Regions from separate parts of the Homo sapiens genome. Here region 1 is linked to region 2. Evidence: promoter capture Hi-C in 16 types of primary human blood cells and fetal thymus (Javierre and others, 2016). All regions are on one chromosome and are shown on one strand. The core of a region is centred on a gene start or on the middle of the fragment in contact, and the rest is flanking DNA. Distances in the headings are between cores, read along the strand shown.

The links. The method cuts DNA at HindIII sites, captures the fragments that hold promoters and counts their contacts. A CHiCAGO score of 5 or more calls a contact.
Region 1: a contact is called between a fragment that was not itself captured here and the fragment with the promoter of DNAH7 in region 2, in 1 of 17 cell types (total B cells). The highest score is 5.3, in total B cells.

What each region holds. Positions count from the first base shown.
Region 1 is chr2:191,554,698-191,558,425 of GRCh38, forward strand. No RefSeq gene overlaps it. Among named protein-coding and RNA genes, the nearest start is that of NABP1, 120 kb to the right of the region's middle. The HindIII fragment of the contact is 3,115 bases long and covers 532-3,646 here.
Region 2 is chr2:196,066,646-196,070,258 of GRCh38, forward strand. DNAH7 (dynein axonemal heavy chain 7) reads right to left here and starts at 2,192. Exons shown (of 65, transcript NM_018897.3): 1 at 2,052-2,192. The coding sequence starts at 2,066. RefSeq lists enhancers at 1,484-1,533, 2,014-2,103. The HindIII fragment of the contact is 14,129 bases long and covers 1-3,613 here.

The DNA.
Region 1 (3,728 bases), core at 839-3,338, 4.5 Mb before region 2:
TCAGAGCCTTGAAGTCGGCATTTGCCAACTTTACATTTTTGTTCAAGGTCAGTCTTGACCTTGATTTACATTCCCAAAGATGGAAACAAACCAGTGTGTGTTCTTCACCTGTCACCGACACTCGTTTAGAAAATAATTGGGGTCGTCCCGGCGCAGTGGCTCGTGCCTGTAATCCCAGCACTTTGAGAGGCTGAGGCAAGAGGATCGCTTGAGCCTGGGAGTTCGAGACCAGCCTGGACAACATACTGAGATCCCTGTCTCTACTAAAAATACAAAAATTAGCCAGGCGTGGTGGCGCGTGCCTGTAATCCCAACTACTGGGGTGGCTGAGGCACGAGAATCGCTTGAATCTGGGAGGCAGAGGTTGCCGTGAGCTGAGATTGTGCCCCTGTACTCCAGCCTGGGTGACAAAGCGAGACCCTGTCTCAAAAAAAAAAAAAAAAAAGAAAAGAAAAGAAAACAAGTGGGGGCGTCCTCACTTTCCCAGGCTCCCTCTAATTGTGTGTGGGGGTTGGGTGTTTAGCACTCACAAGCTTCCGCGAAATGCTGCCTCAAATTATCTTGTAGCCACCAGGTGGCAGCAGCAATCCACTTTTTGGTCTAACCTGGGAGAGGCTGAACTAGGATGGTTCTCCTTTAATTAGCGTACTGGCCATAGAATCGTGGACGTTTAGACATGAAAGAACCTTTCTCAAAAGTTCTGACAACTACAGATGTTTAAACGGAGAAAAAATAACAAACATATTAAGAACACTTCGTTGTTCACACAATAAATTTCATCTATTGAAGGGAAGAAAGGAAGTTGTAACATCTACAATGTGCTGGGCACTTTGTATGTTATCTCATTTGATTATCAGTACAACCTTGTGGGATGGATACCAATGCCTCTAATTTACCGTGGGGGAAACTCAAGTTGGGATAGGTTCAGACTTGTCTGATGTCTCAGAGAAGTAGGTAACAGAGGCATTTAAAAGTATCAGACACTAGTCAAAAGTCTTGGAGTTGAACCACAGCATGCTTTGGTGTGTGTGGGGTGGGATTGATCAGCCAAATGGCAGGATTTTGATGGTGAGGGAATATGGTTATTCTTTGAGGACCCTCTGTTTTATGGCCCAGTACTTGTGCTAGTCACAAAAAAGTAAGAGGATCAAGGGTGCCTTCTAAATTTGAACCATCTTGAATAATCAGGAGGAGCTTCTTGAAATTAGAGGAGTCTTAATCAGAGAGAGAATCATGCTCTGAAGAGGGGACAGAATGCTTATTTCTCTTTTTTCTTTTGAGACAGGGTCTCACTCTGTGGTCCAGGCCAGAGTGCAGTGGCGTGATCGTGGCTCACTGCAGCTTTGAGCTTCTGGGTTCAAGTGATCTTCCTACTTCAGCCTCCCAAGTAGCTGGGACAACAGGCATGCACCATCACGCCCAACTTATTTTTGTATTCCTTGTAGAGTCAGGGTTTCTCTGTGTTGTCCTGGCTGGTCTTGAACTCTTAGGCTCAAGCGATCCTCCTGCCTCAGCCCCTCAAGCAGTGGGATTACAGGCGTGAGCCACTGTGCCAAGCCAGAACACTTATTTTTCTAAGATAATATGAACCTGAAGTAAATGACAAATTTTAAGTCATGTAAAGTGTCAGGGGAAATATTTATTAGTGGGACGTTGCTCTATACTTGTTGCCTTCATAATTAAATAATACACTGAAGTCTCTACTTTTTAATAGTATCTCTTCCTTCTCATTAGACGAGATGAAGAAATTATCTTCTCACACTTTCCTGCACCTCTTTTCTCCATAATTTCCCAATTTGGGCTGGGTAAACTCTATTTTTATGTTGTCAAGGTTAGTAATTTACGTTCAGTCCTATAACTGTAAATAAGAGCTTTGGTGGTATAATTAAACAAAGTATTTGGTGAAGAACTGAGCGGTGTGGTTGGTCAGCAGGAAAGACATGTCATCCTCTGTGACTAACTTCATGTCCTTATAAGGACAATCATCAAGGTCAAATGCATCCTGTTCTCTAACATGCTCAAAATTAGGCAATGTTTGGTTTATTTGTGTGTGTACATGGCTTTCTTGCAAACATTTTTGTTTCTTTAAAGGTTGTATTGGCCTTACCTTATTTCAATTGTTAGAGGAAAATAGGCTCATTTGTCATATCACTAGGATATGCCCTCTTGACCATACTATTTATTGAATGGTGCAGTGTGGACTCCTTATGGCTTTGCTCTCCATCTGTCACGGTGGGCTTTGTTTGCATTGCACTGCTTGGCTGGCTTCCCTCTTTGTTATATCTTTGTAAGTTTCCTCCTTAATTGGATTTGTCTATATGTTTTGTTGAACATCCTTAATAATTTCAGAAATAGTGGTCAGGGAGTATATTTTCCAAAGGTTGGCATGACTAAGATGTCTTCTTGTTATTCTCCTTTGATTGAAATTTCATGATGAAAATGTTCCTTTAATTTCTCTCAATAGCTCATAGTAATTCCTTATTTTTATCTAGTACAAATCACTAGAATTAATGTTAGTTGTGTCTTGCATAATTTCTATTAAGATTATTTTAGTACTATTTCAATATTATTTTTAAATAAAACAGATTATATGAGTAAATTATGGTCTTAAGTGAATCTTTCTGGCTGTTTCCAGTAAAAAGTAACCCTCTCTCATTTCCTTTACACCTTCGTAATAACAACTAGACATTTTCTTCTCATATATTCTATTGTATTTCTGTGAAACCTTCTGGAAAGGTTTTTAAAGCAGTATTTCTGTCATCATTTTGTGAGTCCCATTTTCACAACTCACTTAGAAGCGAAATGTTTTATGAGAAACTGTGTGGGGCCTAGAATGAGTAAAGCACTAGTCTTTGAGCATGATTCAGAAAATTAAGTCTTCCAGTAGACTTAAAGCTATTGTAAGGCCCATCTGTGTGCCTAAGGAAAGACTCCTTAACTCACTGAGAAAATGCCTATGAGCGTAAGAAAACTCCTTTTCTCCTCTATAAAATAAAGAAAATGGTTAAAGTTTTACATGTATGACCCGATCCTTTGCTGTTTACAGCATAGAAATCTGTGATTCTCCTGCTGATAGAATGAAAGTTACTTTTAAATGGTTAGAATTGAAAAATGCTCAGATCAAAATATTTGCTGAATTTTCCTCTCAATAATACCTGGGTGGATATGTAATTATTTCTTGGCCTGCTGGGTGAAGTAGCCCACAGGGTTTTGTCTGTCTTCACACATACGGAGAGGACTGTACCGTGGTCAGAACGTGGCTCCGAGGGCCTGACTGCATGGGTTCACATCCTGCCTCTGCTACTACCTAGCTGAGTCACACTGGGCCATTCTGCTTAAACTCCCTCCAACTCTGGTGTCCCCTGAGCCTCAGATGTCCCCTCTGTGAAATGAAGATAACACTAGCACTTAGGCTGTGAGGGAATTGTAAAGGTTAGGTGAGTTAGCCTCTGCAGGGAGCTAAACACATTGCCAGGCCCCTGACAAGCCTCTGGGATGTCTGCTAGCATCATTATCATTCAGTCATGAATTAGGCGTACATAGCTCACCCTCAAGGAACCCTTGAGGCATATTCATGTCTAAAAAAATGAGGTCATTTTGGGTTGATGGGGAAGGAGCCTCCGGAAGAGATAGGGTTCCTTTTCAAAGCTTTGCGGGGTGACAGTGGACAGGATGCATCGACAATGACAACAAATGCTGTTGATGGGCTCTAAGAGATGTATGGGAAC
Region 2 (3,613 bases), core at 942-3,441:
CATTTCTTCTAAATGCCTAATTTAAGAGAAAAGCCCAGACTGCTATTCCTGAAAAATTCCATGTCACTCTCAACCTTCCACTAATGAGATGAATATGTTAAAATCTCCTTCAGCAAATACGATTTTACCACCTGCTCACTTTCTCAAACTGAATGAATATACAAGTAAATGTCACATAAAAAATGGCATTTCCAGAAGTTTAATCCATTCTGTTTGTTTTAGGTTAAAACATAAAAACTTTCATCCTTCCAAAGGAAAGCTACACTCTAAATTAGCATAAATGAAATTCTCAAGATTAGTTTTTAAATTACAAATCAACCAAAACAGTGATAGAGGGCCCTCTGCTGTTCAAAAATAGTAAGTGGAAAATGGAAATCATGTCCATTCTTTTAAGATCCCGCTGCCTCTTCAATAAATCACAACCTTTCTGGAGGGGGAGTGAGAGACTAGGGTGTCATTTCCCAACATCACTTTTATAAAGATGAAGCAAAATTTAGAACTTAACGGCTGGTGGGTTTTTTGTGGATACTTTTTAGTTGTAGATGGGTAAGTTAGGGGAATTGTGAAAAACAGCTATTGAGAAATACCATTGGAAATGTGGTAAAAGTGTATTTTAAACTCTAACAACGTAGGATATGGTTCAAGATCTGGCCGAAGACTAACTTGGGCAACAAGCAAAGAAGCTGCTCAATATATAATAATGGTGACAGTAACAAATGTTATTTTTTAAATCTGATTACATTAATATCATGTAGAAAAAAACTAGTAAGATCTATTAAACAATTGCTCAGTGTTTTTGGTTACTTGTATCTGAACTTTTTGTTTTTTGCTTGTCATTTACTCTTTTATTATTAATACCAATACTAATTATACTTTAGCATATGAATCAGTGTCCATTTCTTAGTTCTTAAATTATACTTATTTTTTTAAAAAGGTTCAAACCAAATTTTCTTGAGCATTTCAGGTATTAATTACTTATTTGATGAACTAACCAATCAGGATCTTCACATAGTTCTGTTAGTAATGTACAACTCAATGGATAGGAGACTAAATCCGTTTTAATACTGTTTCCACAATAAATTCTAACACTACCGAAAAAAGCATTATAAAGCAATAAAAAAGAAATAATTACCGTTTAATATTGTTTAAAAGCTAAATGAAATTTGCAGGCTTAAAAACAACTGTTTTTCTTCCAGGAGGTTTATAGAGTCCTTTTCCTTATTCATCACTACGTAGAAAGCTAGAGTTATTTTCTAGCTAGCCAGAATAATGACCACGTTTAATATCTTCCCATTCTGTGCTGATATTAAGACGACTGACCATTGTTCTGCCTTTCTGTTAGTTGCTCTTAAGTTCAATAAAGAAAGAATTCTTAGAAGAAAAAGGAGAGAAAGACAGAAAGGAAAAAAACGAGAAAAAAAGAGAAAGAAAAGCAGCTATTGCAAAGTGCATCTTTTATCACATACCATGGAATATCATCTTAAGAAGTGCCATATGTCACTTACCAAGGCCTTTCATGTATAGTATAATATTGTATAGTTATGGTATGGCATGGTATCTAATTTGAAATTGACAACAACCTCAAAAAGAAGAAAAGTTGTTCTGATGTTTCCCCCGCTCTGCATAAGAGGTGGGAGAACTAAGGCTTACAAAGACTAAGAGATTTGTCCAAAGTCACATGGCTAGGAGTTGGCTTCGATTCCCACCTTAGAACCCAAACCCGCTGCAACTCCTCGCAGAGCCGCCTCTCACCCAAGCACACCGCCATTAGCACTCTGGGGGTGCTCTGGGCTGTGGCTCCCCCTGCTGGCGCGCCGCTAGGCGGCTAGGTTTGGTTGTTATGACGACCAAGGGCAAACAGCTGGGAAGGGAACTTATAAGGGCATTCACGGAAAGCGCTCAGTAACCCAGGCCACAAGTGGGGTGAAGGAAGCTGTACACCGCGGAGTCACAGCTGGGGAGTTCGCTAGGCAGGAGGGGCTTCCACCACTTCCGAAACGCCTGGGAAGCGTCGCGGCGGCGGCGAGCCTGGCAAAGAGCAGCCCTCTCACCTGCTCACTGCTCATGGCTGCGAGGACGCGCTGGCCTCACCGGTGCTTCTGGGTTGCTCCTGCCCGCGGAACCCCTAGGACGATAGAGGCAGGGCCCCGGGACTTGCAGCGGTCTCAGCTCCCTCCGCACCAGAGCCGTCTAGCGTCCGGGCAGCGTTTGTTGCTAAGCAACGGGCCCGCGCAGGTTCCATTTCCGGTCATCTGTTCCTTCTGGGGCTGGACCCGGAAGCTGGCGCGCGGTCCCGCAAGAGGAGCTTTCTGGGGCGCTGCTGCCAGTGTTGTGAGGTCTAAGGTGTGCGTTGAATAACCAAAGACACTGGGTGGGTCTCCTCCAATATCCTCTGATTACTGAAGTAGATCCTCACACTTCCGCACCCTCCTTCTAAATAAGCCGGATGCCCAGGACTGCTGCCTTAACCCCTCAGAGGTCTCGGAGAAACACTGGAATGAAATGATTACAGATTTCATTGCTAATGTGGGCGAGTGGAGTAATGCGAGGCAGGATCCAGTAAACACCTTTCATTATTCATGTGCTTCCAACCCCTGTGCTGTTGACTCTTCCCACACTCCAGAAAACTATCCTTTGGAAGAATACCAGTAAAGGAACCTTCCAACAATTCTTGAAACCAACATTCACAGATGGTTTACTACATGAAAAGTGGTGTGCTAAGCACAAATGTGACCAAGACATCCATTCGCCACAGGCTGGGGGGTGTCCAAGCCAAGCACTTACCGTGTAGTGGAGACGGTGCTAAGAATGGCAGTCCTCAGTGAGAACATAAAGCACCAACTAATTTTCTCATGGAGGGCATGGAAGGGATGTGGAAGCTGAAATGTGAAGGAAGAAGAAATGCCAGGCAAAGAATGCCGGGCAAAAAGCAGGTCACATACAAAGGCCTGAGACAAGAGAGCATAGCTATTGGAAGCAGTGAAAATGGTTCTGAGAGGTCGATGAGTAGGTTTGGATAAAGGGGATTGGAGCCAGTCTAGAGAAGAAGCTGAGGTGATAAGCAGGTGATATATCTTAAAGGACCCTATAAAAGGGCAGGAGTTTGGATGTCAAAAGCAACTGACCTCCACTGAAAAGTTTTATGCTAAGAAATGGCAGAATTCCATCCTGAAATTAACAAGGAACCCCAAGGGGTCATAAATAGCCAAAACAATCTTGAAATTAAAGAACAAAGTTGGAGTACTCACACTTCTTGATTTCAGAACTTACTACAAGACTATAGTGACCTTAACAATTTATTTTCAACAAATGATGCTGGGGAAACTAAATGTCCATATGCGGAAAAAAATGCAGTTGGACCTTTACCTAAAAACATCATATACAAAATTATCTCAAAATTGATCAAAGATGTAACTGTAAGGTCTTAAACTATAAAACTCTTAGAAGAAAACTTAGAAGAATCGCTTCACGACATTGGATTTGGCAGTGATTTCTTGGACATGACACCAAAACGACAAGGAAAAAATAGACAATTCGGCTGCATCAGAATAAAAAACCTTTGTGCATCAAAGAATACTCTCATCAGTAAAAAGACAATCCACACAGGCCGGGT